3 separate regions of the Homo sapiens genome follow, and regions 1 and 3 are each linked to region 2. The links are contacts of gene promoters, found by promoter capture Hi-C in blood cells and fetal thymus (Javierre and others, 2016). All regions are on one chromosome and are shown on one strand. Each heading gives the region's core, a stretch centred on a gene start or on the middle of the fragment in contact. The rest is flanking DNA. Distances are from core to core; before and after follow the strand shown.

The links. Contacts are between HindIII fragments. The CHiCAGO score rates a contact against its expected background, and 5 or more counts as called.
Region 1: a contact is called between the fragment with the promoter of GSK3B here and the fragment with the promoter of MSL2 in region 2, in 7 of 17 cell types (fetal thymus, non-activated CD4 T cells, total B cells and 4 more). The highest score is 20.4, in fetal thymus.
Region 3: a contact is called between a fragment that was not itself captured here and the fragment with the promoter of MSL2 in region 2, in 1 of 17 cell types (total B cells). The highest score is 9.1, in total B cells.

The regions. Positions count from the first base shown.
Region 1 is chr3:120,092,842-120,096,735 of GRCh38, reverse strand. GSK3B (glycogen synthase kinase 3 beta) reads left to right here and starts at 2,289. Exons shown (of 11, transcript NM_001146156.2): 1 at 2,289-3,389. The coding sequence starts at 3,302. It overlaps GSK3B-DT (GSK3B divergent transcript), which reads right to left and starts at 1,632. Exons shown (of 3, transcript NR_186629.1): 1 at 958-1,632. RefSeq lists enhancers at 1,181-1,500, 1,780-2,074, 1,701-2,110. The HindIII fragment of the contact is 3,897 bases long and covers 1,638-3,894 here.
Region 2 is chr3:136,194,936-136,198,847 of GRCh38, reverse strand. MSL2 (MSL complex subunit 2) reads left to right here and starts at 2,513. Exons shown (of 2, transcript NM_018133.4): 1 at 2,513-3,876. The coding sequence starts at 3,735. RefSeq lists enhancers at 1,966-2,265, 2,436-2,485, 2,063-2,809, 3,436-3,505, 2,810-3,556 and 2 more and a silencer at 2,706-3,095. The HindIII fragment of the contact is 2,546 bases long and covers 1,433-3,912 here.
Region 3 is chr3:123,581,954-123,585,547 of GRCh38, reverse strand. It overlaps HACD2 (3-hydroxyacyl-CoA dehydratase 2), which reads left to right and starts at 495. Exons shown (of 7, transcript NM_198402.5): 1 at 495-675; 2 at 3,219-3,336. The coding sequence starts at 521. MYLK-AS1 (MYLK antisense RNA 1) reads right to left here and starts at 35. Exons shown (of 4, transcript NR_121654.1): 1 at 1-35. RefSeq lists an enhancer at 11-310 and silencers at 371-980, 991-1,170. The HindIII fragment of the contact is 262 bases long and covers 2,076-2,337 here.

The sequences.
Region 1 (3,894 bases), core at 1,040-3,539, about 16 Mb after region 2:
GAATCGGGGAGGCGGAGGTTGCGGTGAGCCGAGATCGCGCCACTGCACTCCAGCCTGGGCAACAAGAGTGAAACTCCGTCTCAAAAATAAATAAATAAATAAAGATACATTTCAATTATTTAAGGTCCCAAACCATTTTGTTTTCACCCTCCTACTGCTATCGGGCCCCTAACAATTATTAACACTTTTTCCAATGCCTCATTGGCCAAGGGATGTTTTTAGGTTGGCCTGCAGGGTTTGAAAATTTGGTTACCAACATTTAAAAATGCAGAGATTTCACACAAAAATCCAATTTTGGGGTTTCTTTTGGGAGGAAAAAAATTGAACATCTGAGAACACTGGACCCACATTCCTGAGGGCAACAATCTGCTAGAGTTGAGCAGCTGTTCCTTTTAGTTATGGCATGGATATTCCAATTTGCCATTTTCCCTATCATTCCCCATTGTCTTACACAAGGCCAGTCTCACTCATTTGCTTTACTTGTCTGGCCTCTGTAGCCATTTGAATCTGCAAACACTATCTAGACCTTTCCTGTCTTCCATCAAAGCTTACTTTGTTCTGTCCCAAGTCCTTCATCAGTGTTTCAAAGCAAGAGCCAGGTAATCTGATCAAATATAGGTCCTTTAACATGTGCTTTCTGGAGACAGCATCTTAACAGAAAGAGATGACTCTGCAGGTAGAAATTACAGGCACCACTGGATTACAATCAGGATGGCAACTGTCTGTTCTACTTTCTCTGTTATCTTGACGTAGCCATACCTCACTGTTCTAAAGCAGACCAAAGGAACTGGTTCTATGGTAGAACAATGGACGCTGGTCTTATGTATGAAATCTTCTCAAGCTGCACTTTTATAGATCACCCTAGTTCCAAAAGATCCAAAGCTACCACGGGCTCCTCTGACCCCCCCATTTCCTCGGAGGCTTCAGGATATCCGGCCTGACGGCATTTCCCCTCACCTGCTTTCGGGGCCCGTTTTGCGCTGGGCAGTTGCGCCCAAGGAGCGCGCGCATCCAGCATGAGCTCATTTCTCATGGGCGTTTCCAGAGGCCCGGCCGGGCCGCGCACACCAAGCGCAGCAAGCCTCTGTATCAATGGCCCCCGCGGCTGGGCGGGGCGCGGCCGCCCAAAGGCGCTGCCTTTCTGGAAGCTTTGTTCCCATTTTAGCGTCTGAGAGCTTGCAGCCGGCTGGGAAGGCCCCCTTGGTCCGTCTGGCCCTTTCGGGGAAGAGGCCAACACTCGGCACACGCGATCCACGGCAGAGGGGAGCCTTGGGCGCGCAGAATTGGCTGCGCCCCGCCGAGAGCCTCCTGTGGGTGGGGAGAGCCCCTCCACCCCTCTGCTCGCTTGAGCGCTCAGAGCCCAGGGCCGCCGACCGCAGCACTTTCCGATTTGCTGCACCGAGGGCCCGCGGTCCCTGTGTGCGGTTTCCACCGTTGTTGGAGGCGGCCGCAGGCGAACCGTCGGGTCGTCAGCCACGACCCGAGTCAGGCATCTCCCCGCTCCTGGGACCGGGGCCGAAGGCCAATCACACTGCAGCTAGGTCTTGCGATTGGACGGCAGTGAGAGCCGATTGGCCGCCGCCGCGAGTTTCGGGCTCCCTCCCTCTCCCTTTTGCCCCAACTCCAGCGCCTAAGCTTCAGGCCAATGAGACAGCGCTTTATAGACGCCCTCCCTTCGCTTTCTTCTCCCCACCTTGGAGAGGGAGGGGAAGTCCTGACTGGCCAGACTGTCCTCGGAAGCCCCCTTCTCTTCACCAATCACCGAAGGAGGTACGCTCCCAGCGGAGTTTTCCAGCCAATCACAAAGCGGCGGCGGCGCCCAGCCGTGCAGTTTCACCAGCGTCTCTGGGTTTCACCGTCCTCAACTCTTCAAGCCTCTTCGTAAGGGCCGGCGACTCTGATTGGCCACTGTTGCCATTGTCGAATGTCTCCTCCAGCCAGCCACCGAACAAGGCGAATTCACCCTTTCCGTTCGGCTACCTTCGGCATTTTCCGCTCTTTGGGCGTGGCTTCCCAGCGTCACTTTCTAATTGGTTTCTCAGGCTGATCGGCTTTTTCCGGGAGGAGCCGCAAACAAACGACGTCCGTGATTGGCTCCGTTCGGGCTTCGGCTCCCAGCCGAAGCGGGCGAGCGTGGGGCTCGGCCGGCGATTCCCAGACGCCTGTTACGCGGGCGGCGGGGCGCTGGGCGGTGTAAGGCTGGGTGGGGGAGGAAGGAGGTGGAGGACGAGTAGGAGGGGGGAGGAGGAGTGGGGAAGTGCAAGGCGGCTGCGCAGACAGCGCTCCTCACACAGAGCAGCTCCTGACCCGGGCGAATGCGGGCTTGTGCCGCCGCCGCCGCCGCCGCCGCCCGGGCCAAGTGACAAAGGAAGGAAGGAAGCGAGGAGGAGCCGGCCCCGCAGCCGCTGACAGGGCTCTGGGCTGGGGCAAAGCGCGGACACTTCCTGAGCGGGCACCGAGCAGAGCCGAGGGGCGGGAGGGCGGCCGAGCTGTTGCCGCGGACGGGGGAGGGGGCCCCGAGGGACGGAAGCGGTTGCCGGGTTCCCATGTCCCCGGCGAATGGGGAACAGTCGAGGAGCCGCTGCCTGGGGTCTGAAGGGAGCTGCCTCCGCCACCGCCATGGCCGCTGGATCCAGCCGCCGCCTGCAGCTGCTCCTGGCGCAATGAGGAGAGGAGCCGCCGCCACCGCCACCGCCCGCCTCTGACTGACTCGCGACTCCGCCGCCCTCTAGTTCGCCGGGCCCCTGCCGTCAGCCCGCCGGATCCCGCGGCTTGCCGGAGCTGCAGCGTTTCCCGTCGCATCTCCGAGCCACCCCCTCCCTCCCTCTCCCTCCCTCCTACCCATCCCCCTTTCTCTTCAAGCGTGAGACTCGTGATCCTTCCGCCGCTTCCCTTCTTCATTGACTCGGAAAAAAAATCCCCGAGGAAAATATAATATTCGAAGTACTCATTTTCAATCAAGTATTTGCCCCCGTTTCACGTGATACATATTTTTTTAGGATTTGCCCTCTCTTTTCTCTCCTCCCAGGAAAGGGAGGGGAAAGAATTGTATTTTTTCCCAAGTCCTAAATCATCTATATGTTAAATATCCGTGCCGATCTGTCTTGAAGGAGAAATATATCGCTTGTTTTGTTTTTTATAGTATACAAAAGGAGTGAAAAGCCAAGAGGACGAAGTCTTTTTCTTTTTCTTCTGTGGGAGAACTTAATGCTGCATTTATCGTTAACCTAACACCCCAACATAAAGACAAAAGGAAGAAAAGGAGGAAGGAAGGAAAAGGTGATTCGCGAAGAGAGTGATCATGTCAGGGCGGCCCAGAACCACCTCCTTTGCGGAGAGCTGCAAGCCGGTGCAGCAGCCTTCAGCTTTTGGCAGCATGAAAGTTAGCAGTGAGTATTGGTTTTATTTTACACCCCTTTTCCACCTCGCCCTTAAAATAAGAAACCTCGAAATACCAGGATCTGAAATTATTAGACCTCCTGATAAACAGGCAATGGAAAAGGGCAAAACCTATCTTCAGTCAAGGATGAAGCAGCTCCCTTTTTACTCCTCCCATACCCCCTCCCCCGGTCTCATTAACCTTGAATTGAGATAATATGATATTTATTTGGATGATTCGATTTCAAACTGCTTTCTTGTACTTTTCTTGCTGTTGGTAGTCAGTTTCATCAAGTGCTCGAGTGTTTCCACGTTAAAGTAGTGATGACAGTGTTTACTTGCCCATCCTTTAGAATAAAGAGAAGGACAAGATTTGATTACTAAACCATTATGCACATTTGCAGAATTTTTGGAATTTGGAATGAGAGAATATTTTAGGTCTCAGGGGTTATCATAGTTTGATATACTTAATAGAGACGTTAAATGTCCCACCCTCCCAACATTTTTTTCTTGTTT
Region 2 (3,912 bases), core at 1,264-3,763:
GCTGGGATTACAGGCACCTGCCACCACTTCTGGCTAATTTTTTTGTATTTTTAGTAGACATGCGGTTTCACCATGTTGATCAGGTTGGTCTCGCCCTCTTGACCTCAGGTGATCTGCCTGCCTAGGCCTCCCAAAGTGTTGGGATTACAGGCATAAGCCACCGCACCTGGCCTATGTCTTCTTTTGAGAAGTGTCTGTTCATGTCCATTGCCCATTTTTTAATGGGGTTGTTTTTTGCTTGTTGATTTTTTTAAGTTCCTTATAGATTCTGAATGTTGGACCTTTGTTGGATGCATAATTTGCAGACATTTTCTCCTATTCTGTAGGTTGTCTGTTTACCCTGTTGATAGTTTCTTTGCTGAAGCACTTCATTTTCTGTAAACAATTCATTTGTTTCCCTTTTAGGCAAGGCTCAAGCAAGCCAATAAATATTAGAAGAGAATATACCTCAAGATTCTTTGCCTCTAAGTACAATACTCTTATTACCAGTTGCAACCAATTTCAGAAGCTAAAAAAGAACTGGCTTAACACACGTTTTCTCTCTCACGTCCATGCACACGAATGATCAACAGAATTAATCTTAATTTGGGGTGTACACATCTGAAGACATTTGTAAAAATCCAGTTATGAGAAAATTAGCAAGGTTAATGCCCTGCAAGTAATCACTTGCTTAGGGTGACTGCTAATTTATTGTCTTAACGGAAAACAGTGCTGATTATTTTACTCTGTGTTGCTCCTTTTGGGGAGAACCACCTCTGTGTTGTGGGAGAAGACCTTAGAGTCTGGAGTAAAAATAGAACCGTGTAACAATTTTATTTGAAGGAGAGCTTAGAAAAGATCTCTTATGCAAAAAAAAAAAAAAAAAGAGAGCTTTTAAAAATGAGAGTGGCTTTTAGAATATTTGTCATTTTCCACGTATAAGACAACCAAATACAGTTTGCACAGCTAATCAAAATTAGGAAGTTATATTCTTACTGCTTAATATTTAAGTGTTGATAATATGGTAGGTCTTGTGAAAAAAAAACCTGTCTTCAAATGGTAATAGAAATTATAAATCGAGATTATATGTGTTCCCTTGATATCTTAACTATTCCTACTCACCTCAAGTGGCAGCTTGTAACTAACACGTACCACATTTACATGTTCCATATACGTGCCTGTGTACATATGTAACATGTGCCACAATAGATTTACACGCATCATAATTTTCACTTTGCAAACGTATAGAGTACCTACTGTGCATGAAAAATTATGCTGAGGAGCTTTGGTGTGTACAGAGATAAGAAATGCTTCCTATGGCCTGTTACTATTTGTGCTACTCAAAAAAAGGTTTTGTACTTTGAGATGGGAGGGAAGTCATCTACTAAGTCAGGCTTTTGTTTATTTATATCCCAGTGCCCTTGATCTCCTGCAAAAACAAAAGGCAAAAGCTTGTTTTAAAAAACAAAACATTTGCAAGGATTTGGGTTTGTTCTAGAGCAAGATCACGCATTCTTCAAGACATCTGTTCACACAGAAGAGCTAGGTCTTTTAAAAAAGCTAGGTCTTTCAAAAAAAAAAAAAAGGAGTTCGTTTTGTTTTTAAAACAGGACTCTGTTCCGGTGAGAGCTCGGTGAAGTCCTGATCGGCACCCATGAAGGTGAGGCCGCACGAGTCCAAGGGCCAGAGGCCGTGGGAACAGCGCGGGTCCGACGGGTAGGAGGGGGCAGTGGGTTCGAGCCTCCACGCTTACATACAGCCTGCCAGGGCCTTAGAGCCCTCTGACTGCGAACCACCGCAGAGAGGTGCGGAACGCGGCCCCGACCCGGCAAAAGCCGTCCGCACGCCTGCTGGGCGCGCAGCCACGTTGACTACTGCAGCCTTCCCGGCTCGGCGAGAGCCTGCCAGCCAGCCGAGGCTGCGCCCTTTCCGCGGTCGGGATGAGCGGTTCCAGGAGAAAGGCCGCGAGGGCGGGGCTTGGGGCCTGGCGCGGCTATTTCCTCACACCGCGGTCAGTCAGGACGAGAGGCCGCGTTCAGGCCAGTGCAGAGCGCCACATGGCGCTACCAAGTCGGGCCCCGGCGTTGGCGGGCACAGAAGCAGTGTAATGCGGGAAGCCTGCAGCCCACACTGGGGAAGGATGTGCCAGCTAACGAATGTTTCACCACAGCCCACATGCCTGGGAGAGGGAATTTGAGAGCACGTGGGGGAGGGGCGAAGAGAGCTGTCGGCTCGCAGAGAGCATGCTCCATTCTGAGAGTCGAAGTGGAGAGCCAGGCATGCGCAGTGAGCCCAGGGTGGGTTGGCAGCGGTGAGGGACTGGCGCGAGCAGGCTGATGTGTTTATCCGGTTTTCTGGGTGGGCGGTCAAAGCGCACGCGGAAGGGCGAAAGGCGGCGGAGCTAGGTAGCAGCTTGCGCATGCGTGGAGTGAGCCGGTAGCTCTGGGAGGCTGTGGAGGGGGTTGTTAGAGGAGAAGCAAGGGAAAAGGGAAGCGAAGGGAGAGGAAAGGGGGGAGGGGTGAGAGTGTGCTCTGCGCATGCGTGCGAGCGCTAGCGACGACGGCGGCGGGGGAGTCTCGGGGATGACAGTGGCTTTGCCCGTTGGGGTAACGGTCGTCGTCGCCGCCAGCAGAGGCCTGAGGCGCCACACAGCCCGCGGGATCCATTAAGGCCGCAGCAGCCCGGGCCCTACCGAGCTGGAGTGGCGCGTGGAGTCGGGGTGAGGGCGGCGAGGCACGGGGGAGGGGCCTGCGGCGGGGCCTTGCTGTGTGCGCTGGGCGGCGGCGGGGCCTGGCGGTGTGAGCGCTTGCCTTCCGCGGCCGGGGAGTGCTGAGGGCGGCGGCGGCCGTCGTGCTCGGCGGAGGAGTCGTCTGTGTGTGTGGCGCCGAAAAAATGGCCGGGCAGTGAGGGGGCGGCGCTTGAGTCTGGTGACCCCGGAGTGTGCGACTGAGGCGCGAGGGGCGCCGCCGCGGCCCGGCCGGGCTTGCCCCCCGCCCCCTCCCGCCCGCCGGCGGCGGCCCGCGCACTTCCTCCCCGGCCTTCCCCTCCGGGTTGAGGACTCCCGCCCGCCTCGCCACCTCGGGGAACTGCGGGCTGCAACCCACGGGGCGGAGAGCCAGGGCGCAGTCTGGGCCCCGCGTCCGATATGGAGAGCGCGGCGGCGGCGTCCGCCAGCCGCAACATCAACCTTCGTCGCCGCCGCGGCGTCTTGCACTAGATCCGGGAAGCCGCTGCCCGACCGTCGTCCTTGCCGTCGCCGCCGCCTCCGCGCCCTGTACTGGGATGGAGTAAGAGGCCCTGCAGCCCGGGAGAAGCGTGCCGCGCCTCAGACGGGGCCGGGGCCTGCTCCCGCGCCTGCCAGCTCGACTTGAGGAGGCGCCTCCGTGTCCGGAGATGGAGCTCGAGTGCAGGCCGCCTGCCGAGCCGCGGGGCTAGACTGAGCTCCGAGTCCCGCCCCGAGCGCCCAAGCCGCCGCGTTCTGCGCTCTGTGGTCGCTCCGGACGAACTCGAACGCTGGTTTCTCTCTCATATTTTTGGTCTGGAAGTCTCAGGGACGGAGGGGCGCCAAGGCCCCATGTGTGGGAGGATTGTTTCAGCTCCACAAACTTGCACGGATTTTGGTTACTTGTTTGGCCAATGGTTCGGCTCTGATTTCTTCCGAATTGTTGCAAATTCGCCATCGTTCCCTGGCTGCTTACTAAGTTGGATCCGGAATTTCTTTTCAACCGGGAGCCATTGGTGTCGAAGTGTCTGCAATGAACCCCGTGAATGCTACTGCTCTCTACATTTCCGCGAGCCGCCTAGTGCTCAACTACGACCCCGGAGACCCCAAGGCGTTTACTGAGATTAACAGGCTCTTGCCTTACTTCCGACAGTCCCTTTCGTGCTGTGTTTGCGGTGAGACGCTTTTTATTGTTCCCTTTTCAATGCTTG
Region 3 (3,594 bases), core at 957-3,456, about 13 Mb after region 2:
GCTGGTCCCTGCAGCCTCAAGGGCTGATGGGAAGTGAATCCACCGTCAACCGCCCTGATCCAAAATGGCAGGATACCGGAGCAATAGTGTTCAGGTGTGAAGATAGGGCAATTGAAGAAGGGAGAACGAAAGCATAATTGTTTTGATTCAACATGGAAGCAGTGATTATAGGAGGGCGAATAGCGAGGGACGACGCAACATCCAGCTGGCAGAAGCAGCGGGCCTGGAGAGGGTGGCTACATTGAACTAATCCAAGATGGCGCCGAGGTTGTAACCGGGAGCGCCCAAGAGGCGGGAATTACCCTGATCCAAGATGGCAGTGGCAACTGAGGCAAGCCGAAAGACGGGAGCGCCAGGAGCGTCTTTGCCCTCAGCCAAGATGGCGGCTGCCGTGGACCCTGTCCCGGCTCCGCCCCGCGGCCCTGGCCCCGCCTGCCCCTCGTCCCTTCCTCCGCCCCCTCTCCTCGCGTAGTCCGGCCCGAGCCGCTCGCGCTAGGAGAGCGGGCTTCGGGCACTTGACATGGCGGCAGTGGCGGCGACTGCAGCAGCGAAGGGGAATGGGGGCGGCGGTGGCAGGGCCGGGGCCGGGGACGCCAGCGGCACGCGGAAGAAGAAGGGCCCGGGGCCCCTGGCCACGGCGTACCTGGTCATCTACAATGTGGTGATGACAGCCGGGTGAGGCTGGGGCTCGGGGAGGCGGGGAGCCAGCGCGGCCGGGGAGGGAGCCCTGCGGCCAGCGGCGGGGCGGATAGGATCGGCGCGGCCCGCCGCAGGCAGTGCATTCCCGGCGGGGGGTGCCCGGGACCCGGTACCTGGGCGCTGAGGGCGGCCGAGCGCTGAATCGGCCCCGGTGGCTGCCCGCGAGCTCCCTCCTGCGCTGGGGGTCGAGCCAAGTTCCCAGGCACTGGGGCGCGGGGACGGCTGCCGGGCGCTGGCTCGCGAGGGCCGCGGGAGGAAAGGTGGGGCTGGCCACAGGTGCGGGGCCGGGGGCAGCGGCCGGACTACCTGCGGCGCGGAGCCCGTCCTGGGCGGCCAGATTCGGATGTTGAACGGCGCCAGCATGGGGAGTGGAGGAGCTGTGGCTGCAGAGTGACCATTCATTTGGGCGGCTGTTTTCAAAATCTGGGCTGCGCTTTAATCTGAAAGGTATTGGGAAAGCGTTCAAAGTTTTTGGCCAGCGACATGAGCAGAGCTAGGCTTTAGATGAGTTTAGACTTTTAGGATGGGTTGGGGTGGGGAAGAAACTGGGGAGTAGAAGGCAGAGTTACTGGAAAGGGGGAGAATGGACCCTCGAAACGGTTTTACCCATCTTCTGTCTCTTTCATTTCAGTGCATCCCTTATCCCGGCGGGTTTTTAGTTCAAGCTCTGCCACTAACTAGCTGTGTGACTTTGGATAAATCATCTTATTTCTCTAGCCTCCGTTTTTTCATTTGTAAAACTAAAGGGTTGGTCTGGGTGATGAAGGTTCCTTCAGCTCTGCAATTCTTTATCTTGTCATTTTGGTGAGGAGGATCACAGCATCAGACAGTTATATATTTTTAAGTTATCTTCATTTGTAATTTTTTAAGAAGTCCTAACATTTTATTATGAAAAATTTCAAACATACAGAAGAGTTGAAAGAATTGTATAGTGAACATCCATTTTTATTTAAAGTAGGTGATACATTGTTAGGGTTAAAAATGAAAAACATGAGGGAATACAGTGAAAATCTTTCCTCCCACCTTTCCCTTCTACCCAGCTCCCCTCCCTCGAGGCAGTTAATTTTGTGTATCCTTAAGATGCTGATGCAAGCAAATATGTTTATACATCCCCCTATCCCTTTTTAAAATAAGACAAATGCCAATATATTAATATTTTTACAGTTCAGCACCTTGCTTTTTTTTCACGAAGAAGAAAATATATCGTGGGAGGATCATATATGTATTGCTAGTATTAGAAATGGTAGGTGTTGGAACCTAGGCTCAGAGAAGTTGTGACTTGCATGAGATCATAGAACTTGTTAGTAGAAGTTCCAGATCTAGAAATCATTTCTCTTGACTCACAGGTCAATGAAGAACTAGTACAGATACAAGCTTTATATCACATCAGTGGTCACATAGATTGATTTTTAAAAAAACATCCAGGAATCTCACTGTGTGTATTAATATTTATATATAAAATTCTTGTTGTCTTAGCAAGAGCCGGTGAGGGCATTGGACTGGAGAGGGATTTTGAGGTACATTGGTAAGAAGAAAGAAGTCTATTCCTGAGCAATGAACATAGAGAATGGGGTGGAGGGTAAGGAGTGGTATCTTAAACCAGGAAGATAAATTGGGATTGTGAGAGCAAAGTAAGCTTTTTTTTTAAGGCTGTTAATGGTTGTACCAGTTACACCATTAAATAATTTCTTCTTTTACAAACTCTTACTTGATGTCCTTATGTGATAGTTTTTGGAAATAGCATAGACCACACACACCCCATTGCCTAGTTGATACTATACATTTATCTAAATCCTTCCAGGAGACATACCTTAATAAAAAGGTCCATTTGTTTTATTATGGAACTTAACAAAACATTGTGTTTATTTTTGAGAAGGACAGTGGAACAAAAATATAACATTCACAGCTGTATGCTTAAGTGCTTTCCTGTTTCGTGGTTTGTATTGATCTGGCTTTCATTTCTGCATTGATTTTAGGAAATTTGGCTAAAAAACTTTTTTTTTTTAGCAAGAGCCCTTTATTCGTAATTTTAAAAGGATAGATTTTAAGGTATGGGTAATTGTTCCAGTGAGACAATTATAACAATAGTTTAAAGCATCTTCTTTCCACCCTGTAATTATTAAAAACCCTTTAACTGCACAGGCTGTTTAAAATTTTCCTTTAACTGTTTTTTTCTCGTCTTAGATTTTCTTGGCACCTGATTTAGTGGCACAAGGACCATTTTAGCTTATTCCTTTCCTTTTGGCCTTGATCTCAATAGCAAAGTTGCCAAAAAAATGAGCTCCAGATGGGTGAGGTGCCACTATGCTTTCACTGAGCCCTCTTGGTAAGGTGCTGTCGGTGTTGCAACATTTCAGTGCATTACAGCTTGGCATTTGAGAGCTATCGTCCATAAATCCAGGTTACTCATGCTTGAGGTCACCTTTAGCAATATCTTTTATTGCCACAGCTGTGTGTTAACCTAAATGCTACTTTTTTTATTTTTATTTTTTCCTGATTGCTGTTTTCTCTTTTACTAGGTGGCTGGTTATAGCGGTTGGTCTGGTCCGAGCATACCTGGCTAAGGGTAGCTACCATAGCCTTTATTATTCAATTGAAAAGCCTTTGAAATTCTTTCAAACTGGAGCCTTATTGGAGGTAGGTCCTGAGATTTATTGTTGTTATTGATTTCCATTGGTATGAAGAAAAACATGCAACTAAATTATATTGAAGTAGCATACCCCCTTTGGATTCATGTTAAATTTTGAAATTTTGCCTCCTCACATACTAAAGTGTTGATACCTAGGCTTTTTGATGTTCTAGATTGGGTAGAATCTCATTTAACTTAGGTTACCTTGAATGTATTTTATATTCGACTTTTTTGGGAAATCAACTGAAGCAAGCTTATATTAGGAT